Linked DNA regions of Homo sapiens: all the other regions are linked to region 1. The links are contacts of gene promoters, found by promoter capture Hi-C in blood cells and fetal thymus (Javierre and others, 2016). All regions are on one chromosome and are shown on one strand. The core of a region is centred on a gene start or on the middle of the fragment in contact, and the rest is flanking DNA. Distances in the headings are between cores, read along the strand shown. Region 1 holds the start of AZIN1 (antizyme inhibitor 1). Region 2 overlaps YWHAZ (tyrosine 3-monooxygenase/tryptophan 5-monooxygenase activation protein zeta). Region 3 overlaps LOC124901993.

Region 1 (3,705 bases), core at 733-3,232:
ATTGCATACTTAAGACTTGTGGGTTTATACTGATGTGAATTTTACCCTCTAAGATTTAAAAAATAGTAAGCGGTACTGAGCTCTATTTAATATGCACATACTAAAGTTGGAGGGGTCTCCAACTTTACTTTGAAATGCATCGACAAATAAGGTAAAATGTTAATTACAGAATCTAGGTGGAAGTATAACTCTTTTTCACCTTCTGTTTGAAAACGTATGTGATAAAACCTTGGGGGAGAAAGGCACTGACTACTCGACCTCACTTATCACCACCGATAATCATTTTCTTTTGGAGTCTTTCCTAAACTCCTTGGGGCTTATTTCTAATCATGATCAGCATCTGCACGCTCTCGTATATGTAAAAGAAATTAATGAATTATGAGGGCCTTTCTAGACAATCATGAGCCATGTTTCTGCCAACCCTTGCTGTATTTGATGTGCTTTGATGTACTTCTACTTTGTGCTTTGATGCACCTCTACATCAACCTTCGCTGAGCACAAGGCAATTCCCCCTCCTTTGAGTCCTTAGATTCCCACCCAGTCTGGGAATTCACGATAGAAACACGACGGGACACAGAACTAATATAACCAAGATGCCACCACAAAATTCAGTTAAATGTGCTGAAACATGAGGCGGTAAACTGTGTCCCCGACTGTTTCGGGTTTCTGAACCAGCAGCTTTGTCTACGAAACACACATTCAGGATACCGTGTAAGGGTTAGAACATGTTACCACCACCAACTGTTGGCAGTCAAGACAGTAGTTGATAAGCCACCCGTCTACCAATCTCCCTCTTTCTGCCTAGGAACCATGGCGCGGACGGAAAAACGAAGCCATGGTGACTAATCCTCAGGCTCCAGGAGGTGACTGGGGTGAGTGAAGGCGACTTGACCCAATCAGGAGCGCCGCAGGGGCGGAGCAGCAGCCTCGAGGCTTCCAGAAGGGGCCAAAAGCCTCTCGCTGGCTACCTGACACCGGGGCTTCCCCGCCGCCAGGCCCCAAGTGGCGTCAACTTTCCTCCACCAGAGGGGGACCGCGCTCCCCGCGCCCCCCAGGAATCCGACTTCCTCCGCAGCTGTCACCAGAGGCCGGCGCGGGGCCCGCCCCGCTCCATTCATAACCAGGACCCCAGCCGTTGCAGCCCACAGCGCCGCCCGCCCGCCGGGCTTCGGGAGGCAAAGGTGGCGGCGGCGCACCGCGGAGTAGGGGCTGCGGGACCCCGGCCCCTCAGGGCTGCGGCCGGGCCCCCTCCCCGGAAACAGCAATGCACCACGGGAGAGGGGTGGGGGCCGCACGCCGCCAGGAGGGGACGGCGACCCCCGGCGGCGAGACCCCCGCGCGCTCCCCCACTGGCACACGCCCCCTCGCCCCAACTGCTGCGGCTCCGGCTCCGCCAAGCGTCCAGCAGCCGCCCGAAGGTCCTGAGGCGCGGCCCGCCGCCCAGCCCCGCCGCCGCCGCCGCCGCCGGGGGCACAGACAGCCGCCGCCGCCATGTTCGAGGCGGCCGGCCGCGGGGCGCTGCGGGGACGTCTTAAGGGCGGCGGGGCCCAGCCGGAGCCCCCCAGCCGCCCCCCAAGGCCAGCCCCGCGTCCTGGCCCCTCCCGCGCTCCTCGGCTCGGTACTCACGTGAGATAACGGCCCAAAGAGTCGGGTAAAGCGTCTTCTCTTTTTCGGCGGAATTTTTAAAGAGGGATGTGGTTACCTTGAGCAGAAATACCCAAGGCGGCCTGGGCCATAGGCTGCGGGAACGACTTGGGGGTAAAAGCGCGGCACCGACACCAGCTGTGTGCAGCAGTGGCGGCGGCGGCCGAAGGAGAAATAGAACAGCGCAGGCAAAAGAAGAAAGGCGCGGGCTGGGTGGGAAGAGGATTCGGACTCGTCACACTGCAGAGCAGCAGAGCGAGAAAGGATGAGAAGAGGCAGAGAAGGCGACGGCAGAAGAAAAAAGGAAAAACTGCGGCCGCGATCAGAGCCTGAAAGTGTGAGAAGGCGGCGCCAGCGACGCCAGTATTTATATTAGGGGGCGTGGCCTGGTGACATCACAGCTGGCCGGGCAGCCGCGCGAGCGGGGCGGAACCCGGTTGCAGCCCGGAGAAAAGGGAGGGGGACGGAAGAGGAAGGAGGACTGAGCCCGGGAGAGAGAGGGGAGGGGTCGGCGCGCGACCGGGTCATGCAGGTGCAGACTGGCCGGTCGCTTCCCGCCCTCCAGCCACCCGCAGCTCCCCGGCAGGCGAAGGGCGGCCGCGCGGGTGTGGGCCGAGAGAGGGAGGCGGCTCGGCTGGAGCGCGCCGTCCGCCCGACCCCCGCCGCCTCTCGGGCGCCTGCGCTCACGCTGCGGGGCCCAGCGCATTGTGAGCCGGGTCGAGCTCCACGCTGGCAGCGTCTGAGAGCTGTCCTGGGCCGGAGGTGGCGCGAACCCTGTGCGGCCTAGAGTGGGCCTGGGGTAAGCCTGTCGGCGCCGCTGCCGAGCCTTCGCGTCCAGCTCCCTCCGCTTTGTGAGGCCTGTAGTTTACCCTGGGGAGTGTCCTCCCGGGCTGAGGCGCCCGCCCTCGGTGATGCGGTACTCCTTTAGGGAAGCGAGTTCCTCGTGGCCAGAAAGGACCGGCCCAGTGTCCGGGTGTTAAAAAGGGTTGTGACCACGTGAAAATGTCCTCAGTGCTCGAACGTTGCAATACGGTGCAGTGGAAATTTTTTAAAGGAATATGGCTTTTATGTCTTCATTTTTAAAAGGATTGGTGGAGTCAGTCCCAAGCAGGACCCGCGTTGGAGAGGGGATTACTGATGTTACAAGCGCACATTACTTCAATCCCCTAGGTCTCATTTTCGCGGTCGTTTTAATTTTTCTACTCCACAACAGACTTTTTTTTACTAGGGGTTCTAAGATTACCTACATAGCTTTTAATTTATTTTCATCTTTTTTAGATGCCTCAGCACTAATGATCATGATCAGAGACCCCGAGTTCTCTCGTGCTGCTACGCTTCGCAACACATAGCACAAATGGAATATGTGTTGACACACCCCTCTGAAGTTAAGATCTTTGATATTAAGACCCTGACTTTTTTCCCTTTCATTCTTCCGAACCCTCTGTGTACTTTGAGCAGCACTGTGGTTGATTAATAAATCATCAAATGTGAAAGGAAGAAAGCGACCTTCCTGTGTGGAAAAGCAGGGTATCTTGCGAGGCTGTATGAGAGAGTATTCGGTAGAATCAGGAGCTGTGGACGCATTCCTGATTTTGTTTTTCCTTATTTTGCTCGGCTATATCTTGGCTCTGTCTTTTATTTCTTCAAAGTTCTGTTCTATTCAGAACATTTGAAAACACAGCCATTCACTAGACCCTCTCTGGTGGAGGAAGAAAAACTAGAGATGAATACAATATTTGAAACCTTGCTTACAATCTAGCAGGGGAAATAAGACAGCAATACAAAATAAATTGTTGGCTGATACAAATAAAATGCTGCAAGGACCAAGTGGAGGGAAGAGATGATTGCAGCTAAGTGAGAGAAAGGCTGCTGGGGAAAGGTAAAGAGTGATTTTGAGAAAAGCCTTTCTAGACAAAGGTGCTTCCTTTTTCACCAAACTCGCCTGTTTGGTGATTTTGAGAGTAGATGTTCCAGTGTTCCAGGCAAGGGAAACGGATGAGAGAAGGCACAGAAGTGGGTGGGTTTAGAGAATTGTGAATAGCCTTTCTGGTTCCAGCATAG
Region 2 (3,705 bases), core at 570-3,069, 1.9 Mb before region 1:
TACATAATGCAAAGTCCACATTGTGAAGAGCATGCCAGTGACCACTTCCCGCCATAATGCTCTATTTACTCTTGTAATATGCAACATGGTCCAAGCTCTTTGCTTATTAAATGGTTAAACAATAGATAAATACATATAACCAGAATGGGTTACTAAAGAGCTCTTCAGAAAAACTCAGAACTTTGGAGATTAGCTGCTTTTTGTAGGAAGAAAGTTTATTTTCATAGCTATTATAAAATAGGTGCTCAATATAAAAAATCTGGTTATCACTAATGCCACAAGCCAATACTATTATTTCTGCAAAGGGACACCTGCTTATTTTTCTCAAATTAAAAAATATATATATCAAAGCCCAGAAAAGGCTGGAGTAATAAAAAATTATAATTGATTTTTTATCATGTAAGATCTTAAAAATATAATTTAAAATATTTTTACTAATCATTAATAATGATTCAATAACTTTTTCTAGTAGAAATATCAGTTCTGCTACATTTTATTCTTCCATCTCACAGAAAGGGCAGAAGGAATTTTATGCAATATGTTTCCAGAGTCGATGTGACCTATTTGAAAAAGATGGTAGGAAAAAGAAGCCTATTATCGGTAAATATCAAATTTTCCCAAGCAGAAAAAGAAAAAGCTAGGGAAATTTTGCAGTGCTGCTGACCTAATTCTATGCTCTTTCTCTAAAGAAGCCTTTCTGCTTGTTTAACAAATATTTGAGCATCTATTACACGTTGAGTATGCAAAGATCACTAAGTCTTACTCCTGAAAAGACCAAGGCTGGAAGCAAAAGCTTGTTTAGAATTCTCTTCAAAGCCATTTGTATAGTAAAGAAATTAAACTCTCATTTATCCAAACTTTCAAAGTGTAAATACCATTAAAACTTTTTGGGAAGCCAGTGCTATTCTGGAGGGTAACGATGTGGGTAGGGACCAGAGTGAACTTCCTTAATAATCATAACAAGAAGAAACTATTTATATGAAGAGATTATCTTGTTATCCTCATCTACTGGTTCTATGCAAACAAAGTTTCTTCATAAGGAAACTAAAGGGAAGCATAGTCAAAACTGCTACAAGTTGGGCTGGACGTGGTGGCTCACTCCTGTAATCCCAGCACTTTGGGAGGCCAAGGCGAGTGGATCACCTGAGGTCAAGAGTTAGACGTGACCTGGTCACCAGCCTGGCCGACAAGGTGAAACCCCATCTTTACTAAAAGTACAAAAATTAGCTGGGCGTGCTGGTGCACGCCCAGTAATCCCAGCTACTCGGGAGGTCAAGGCAGAAGAATTGCTTGAACACGGGAGGCGGAAGTTGCAGTGAGCTGAGATGGTGCCATTGCACTCCAGCCTGGGTGACAAGAGCAAAACTCAGTCTCAAAACAAACAAACAAACAAACATACACAAAAAACAAACCTGCTACAAGTCTTTTCCTTGGAAAAGACTCACAATGACAGGAACTTTTATACTTTGTATATGGAAAACATGCACATACCTACCTGGTATTGCAAATAAGCGTGTTAGTAAAAGGTAAATGTTACATTCCTTTTTATTCCTAAAATTGACTTTTGTCTTAAGGGAAATGTTAATGTGTAACACACCCTTTGAAGCCAAAATAAAAACTTTTCGATCAGGTGTAATAATTGGGAAAAACACTCCAGACTGAACAAAACTGAATTACACATACACAGATATTAGTTAGTAAGGTGAGCAAAAAAAAAAAACAAAAAAAACAAAAAAACCCAATACATTTTTTATTATAGAAAAAAAAAATCACATTTTCAAAATTTAAATATTTGGCCGGGCGCGGTGGCTCAAGCCTGTAATCCCAGCACTTTGGGAGGCTGAGGAGGGCGGATCACGAGGTCAGGAGATCGAGACCATCCTGGCTAACATGGTGAAACCCCGTCTCTACTAAAAATACAAAAAAATTAGCCGGGCGCAGTGGCAGGCGCCTGTAGTCTCAGCTATTCGGGAGGCTGAGGCAGGAGAATGGCGTGAACCCGGGAGGCGGAGCTTGCAGTGAGCCGAGATCGCGCCACTGCACTCCAGCCTGGGCAACAGAGCAAGACTCCGTCTCAAAAAAAAAAAAAAACAAAAAACAAAATTTAAATATTCTTATTACCTTAGCAAAATCACAAAACAGACATTTGTCACTTGGCCCCAATAAAAGCAAGATATTCCTTTTTTCAACTTAGATACAAATAGTAGCTATCATTCTAAAGGTTTCAATAAGCAAAGAACAAAAAAATGCCCCAAGACAGATGCCTCATTGAGTTTGTGGCTGTGAACCCAAATAAGCATGTTTAAAAAATCACTATTCTTTAAAAAGACAGTGTCAAGTAAGTATCATTTGAGAAAATTACAGTTTAGGAACTGATGCTATTCCATTAGTAAATACAAATGTAAAGAAATGATAGTATCATCACAACTTTAACAAAAACCCCAAACCCACAACCACATCAGACATTATCCTATTGCTCATTATAGCACTTCTTCCATAAACAAGGTTCATATAGTAAGTAACAAACCTGGATTTCCATACTGAGTTCCAGATTCAGTAATCTGTCCAGAAAAATCGAGATGCTGCCCCTCTTTGTATATCAGAGCCCTTCCATACTGGTTAAGTGTAACCATTTAGTAAAACCACTTTAAATATTATTCCAAAAACTGCCAGCTTGGTTGGATTCTCTACTGGTTTATCCTCAAATTTAAACTATTCTTGATCAAAAAGCCCTACTTTATATGACAGATTAAAATTAACCAAAATGTAGTTTAATTCTTTTAAGCGCAGTGCTTCAACACAGTAAGTACTGAATACTTAAAATACTCGATTCAAACTGGAAAATCAAGCTTGAGTTGTTCATAACCTTTCATCATGGTTGTGAGTGTTCAAAATTTACCTTCAAGAATTCAATGCAGGAAGAGGTTTCATAGTTGTGACGCCAGAGTTTTCTGCATGGTTGACTCATTACATTAACATTATAGCGGCTAATCCTGAGAAGAGTACTATTTCTACAATGAGTATCCTATTACATCTCTCTTACCTAAAGTATGTAAAATTCCTTTATCCACAGATGTACATTTAAGATAACCAGCTATAGAGCTACTACAAATATTCTAACCATAAGTAAAACAGTAACACAATTAGTTTATATTTTCAATTAATATAAAATACAATACTAAAGTCTGTTATTTTTAACAAAACTGAACTGTTTCATAATCATTGTTGCAATTATTTTACATACACGTATCTATAATTGTCTTAACATCTTTTTAGTCATGACACCATGAAGACTTTTAAATTTGGAACACACAATGTTTAGAAGGAAAAGAAAAACCAAACAAAAAGTTAAGAGTAATGTAACTGATACTCATAGGGACCCTACAGTATAATGAAGCCAGACTGAATTGATTCTCACCAGTACATCATTGCAGATATCTCTTAGCTCCGTCTCAATTTTCTCTCTGTATTCTCGAGCCATCTGCTGTTTTTTCTCAGCACCTTCCGTCTTTTGTTCAATACTTGAGACGACCCTCCAAGATGACCTACGGGCTCCTACAACATTTTTATAAGCAACTGAGAGAAGATTCCTCTCCTCATTGGATAATTCAGCTCCTTGCTCAGTTACAGACTTCATGCAGGCTGCCATGTCATCATATCGCTCAGCCTGCTCGGCCAGTTTGGCCTTCTGAACCAGCTCATTTT
Region 3 (3,705 bases), core at 601-3,100, 1.5 Mb before region 1:
TGAATTGTAATTGTCTGTGCTTCCCATTGGACCAGGGGCTCTGTGAGGAGCAAAGGAAAGCACACCACAAGAGCCAGAGGGAGAGAGCTTGGCAGAACTCTGGAGGGAGCCTTTCCAAGACCTGCTTTTAGTGGAAGCTACAAAACCTCCTGGGAGGAGACTGAATTCCATGTTGGTGTTGCACTATTGCTTTAAAGGTGACTTAAGCTCTTTGTTAGGAAACCAATGGTGTTTTCTTTGATGCCATGTTCCTGAAAATTACTAGTCTAAGATTAACCTTATCACCCCTCTCTCCTTTCCCCTATTAGTGCCACCCTTTCCCTGGGACCAGCAGACAATTGTACCCATTATTTTCTGGTTCTAAGGAAGGATAAACTTCCTTCTAAGGCTTCAGGGATGACAGATGCCTTCTTGGGTAAGTAAGGAGACTGAAATTAAAACTCAAGAAGGTGGGATTACGCCTAACTTTAGGCCTATTAGTCTTTTCATTTTCTGCCTCTTGTCTGTTGTTTTAATGTAAAGCTTTCCCCTCTTTTAAAGAAATAAGAAGTCATCTGCATTTTGAGTACTAGATTAGGATACAAATAATGAGTATCTTCAATGCTTTACTTATTTAAAAGGCATTTTATTTTTATCCTCACAAAGTTTACACTAAAAATCTGTGCTCTGCAATTCTCTTACATGATAGTAATTTATTTGGCAGGCATTTACTAAGCACCTACTATGCGCCAAGCACTAGACTAGGTTCTGGGAATGCAAAAGTGATTTAGAATGAAGTACCTTCTCTGATGCCAAGACACTTAACAAGAGCATGATGTGATTGGCAGATGGCTAGTTATTCCTCAATCTCCCTTCTCTCATTCTTCATAATAGTGGAGTTTTCTCAGTCCCTTTGGACATCTGTGGCAGATAGTGAGAGAAGGATGAGACCTTGAGAGACCAGGAGAAAAGAGCAAGGATAGGGCATGGGAGTAGGAGTGGGGACAGTTGCCAGGAGTAGAGAGGAAGGAATCTTTGCAGCAACATGTGACCTACACTTCAGGTCTGCAGGGCCTGCCCTTTAGACCCACTCCATAAATGTTGATTTCAGTTTCTTTTACAATTCCAGATTTTATGCTTATGAAAAGTCATATGGCAAGGTTGCTTGCTCAAATACTCACGAGAATGACCCATAGACCGAATTTGTTCCAGCTGCAGCCCAGCTGGTGTTTATGACAGACTTGTTAGCAGCTTTGAAATAGAGAAATAGAAGTTGCAAAAAAATTCCAGTTCCATCCTCTCCATTTAATCTTCTCCATGTTGGAAAAAAAAGATAAGCTGCTCCCAATATTTAAAAGCTTTCTATAAAATAAATTGCAAGTAGCTACAAAATTCTGGTATCTGCATTTTCTGACTGCAGATCTTCTCATTCAACCCTAAGTCTCTTTAGTTTTTAATATATGTCATTCTTTATCTCTTCTAAAATAAATGAAAGGACAGTTGGATCTTTGGAGGCAGCTGTTGCTCCTCCAAGTTAAGGAATCTCTGTTCCAGAAATTTCTCCTTCCCTGCCTACATTGATTTCCCAACAAACAAGCTTTGACCAAGCTTGCCAAGCAAGCTTTCTTTTCCCCTTCCAACCTTGCTGTCAGGACAACATTCCTGCCACACTCCTCCCCAAGCTCAGACACTAGACCATGTACTCCCTCCTTCTATCATCACTTGAATTTCAGGAAGCAAATCCTTTGACTCAACCAGAAGAGGATTACTTAGTGCTTTCTTCATTCTTCATTTTAATTTTCATCTAAATGCATCAACACTCTACCATCTGAGGCTTTGATTTTCTTTTAACTACAATTCAAGTGTTTTTAAGATTTAAAGACTCATCTTTCTGTCTCCTGTTTTTATTTTGCCATTTGGATTAGTCAGACAAAGTCCTTTCTTTGCAAGGAAATTGTCTTTGCAAGTTGGGGTTTATTCATCTCCTAAAAATATTCTTGGGGCATGTATAAAGCTAGAAATGCATGTGTAATATGCCAAGCATGTAAGTACAAAGACAGAATTTTTGCACATAATTTCAGCCATTCAGTTATTTCCAGGTTCATAGTCTCTTGTAATATGTAAGCTTTCACTGGCCACACTATGGAAAACTTCCATTTCTTTCAATGGTTGAGATATGAGATTCTTTGTGAATTGTTTCTTCTGGCTAGATGAAAATTACTAAAATGGCATTAGTAATCACTATATTAGTCTGTTTTCTGTTGCTTATAAGAGAATACCTGAAACTGGGTAATTTATAAAGAAAAAAATTTATTTCTTACACTTACAGAGGCTGAGAAGTCCAAGGTCGAGGGCCTGCATCTGGTGATGGCCTTCTTACTGGTGGGGACTCTGAAGCATCCTGAGGTAGGCAGGGCATCACATGGTAAGTGGGCTGAGTGCGTTTGTGTACTAGCCCAGGCTCTCTTCCTCTTCTTATAAAGCCATCCATTCCACTCCCATGATAATTCATTAATCCATTAACCCTTTAATCAATTAATCCATGATGGATTTATCCATTCACTGGGGCAGAGCCCTCATGATCCAATCACCTCTCAATCCTGAAACATTTGTGTTCAAGTTTCAACATGAGTTTTGGAGGGGACAAATATTCCAATCATATAACAATGGCCCGTGTCCAAGTAAGCCCACAGCAGTGTGTACTTAACCTTAGAACCACCCAGAACATTCTTGAATCTTTCTCTCATGGTTCAGGAGGTCTTCTCGGTCTCTCAGTTTGTTACTTAGGGCATCACTAGACTATTGATTATCCATAGTGGCAGGAATATGTCAATTATTTGAGCTTCCCAGAAAGAATTTGACATTCTGAACAATTAGAAGTACACTTGAAAACATATCAATAAATATGTTGACATATAAATGGCCACATTTTCGAGCAGGCTAAATGTTAACAGATAAGAAATGATTTGGCCATAAAATAGATAAGCAGATACAGATGCTGAGATTCAGTTGCTTTATTTTTTTTTCAGGTTGGAGCAGAAGGAACAGCCAGGGAAATGCATCCATTTAACCTTCCAGACTCTGGAGTCCACCTTCTTTGTTTTAAGTAAATTTTAGATGCAGAGGCCATGAACTCAGCTTATAATCAGCCTTATTGCTCATTCACTTATTCCATATTCAAGATATTTAATGCTCATATTGCTCTGACAACATGCCAAGGATCTTCAGCTGACACCTCCCTGCATACTCTACTGGGTGATATCTCTTCTGATTTGTTTTTGTGACTGTTCTGATTAGTTGGACTCATGCTATACAGGTTATTCAATATTTTGAATAACATCCTTGACTTATAAAATTGTAATGGGATAATAGTTTATAGTATCAACCAAGGTTTGTTTGTTTGTTTTCTTTTTCCCTCAAGAATCTCATTATATTCCTGATACTTCCTCAATCAATGTGTAAGAGCATTCCAGCCTATGGTATTAGTCAGGATAGGCCAGACTGTGCTGCAATAATAAACAGCTGCAAAAATCTCAATGGTTAAACACACAATAGTTTATTTCTCATTCATGCTACATGTTCATTGTGGGTCAGTGAAGGACTTTGCGCCATATAGTCACTCAGGACTCAGGCTAAAGCAGGTGCCGTCACCTTGTAGCTGTATCATTTGAGTGCATGTCCTCCTTGATAGGCACAGCAGAAGAAAGCACATAAAATTGTACATGG

The links. Contacts are between HindIII fragments. The CHiCAGO score rates a contact against its expected background, and 5 or more counts as called.
Region 2: a fragment that was not itself captured here is called in contact with the fragment with the promoter of AZIN1 in region 1 in 4 of 17 cell types (fetal thymus, neutrophils, activated CD4 T cells and 1 more); the score reaches 10.5 in fetal thymus.
Region 3: a contact is called between a fragment that was not itself captured here and the fragment with the promoter of AZIN1 in region 1, in 6 of 17 cell types (total CD4 T cells, naive B cells, naive CD4 T cells and 3 more). The highest score is 8.3, in total CD4 T cells.

What each region holds. Positions count from the first base shown.
Region 1 is chr8:102,862,181-102,865,885 of GRCh38, forward strand. It overlaps AZIN1 (antizyme inhibitor 1), which reads right to left and starts at 1,983. Exons shown (of 12, transcript NM_148174.4): 1 at 1,627-1,983. MAILR (macrophage interferon regulatory lncRNA) reads left to right here and starts at 2,091. Exons shown (of 3, transcript NR_126339.1): 1 at 2,091-2,443. RefSeq lists enhancers at 127-860, 2,329-3,061 and silencers at 1,210-1,439, 2,100-2,449. The HindIII fragment of the contact is 10,250 bases long and covers 1-3,705 here.
Region 2 is chr8:100,945,178-100,948,882 of GRCh38, forward strand. YWHAZ (tyrosine 3-monooxygenase/tryptophan 5-monooxygenase activation protein zeta) reads right to left here. Exons shown (of 6, transcript NM_145690.3): 2 at 3,419-3,705. Among named protein-coding and RNA genes, the nearest start is that of YWHAZ, 5.0 kb to the right of the region's middle. The HindIII fragment of the contact is 2,056 bases long and covers 792-2,847 here.
Region 3 is chr8:101,317,747-101,321,451 of GRCh38, forward strand. It overlaps LOC124901993, which reads left to right. Exons shown (of 6, transcript XM_047422526.1): 4 at 309-415; 5 at 2,309-2,404; 6 at 3,009-3,516. The coding sequence ends at 3,049. Among named protein-coding and RNA genes, the nearest start is that of LINC02844, 57 kb to the left of the region's middle. The HindIII fragment of the contact is 504 bases long and covers 1,599-2,102 here.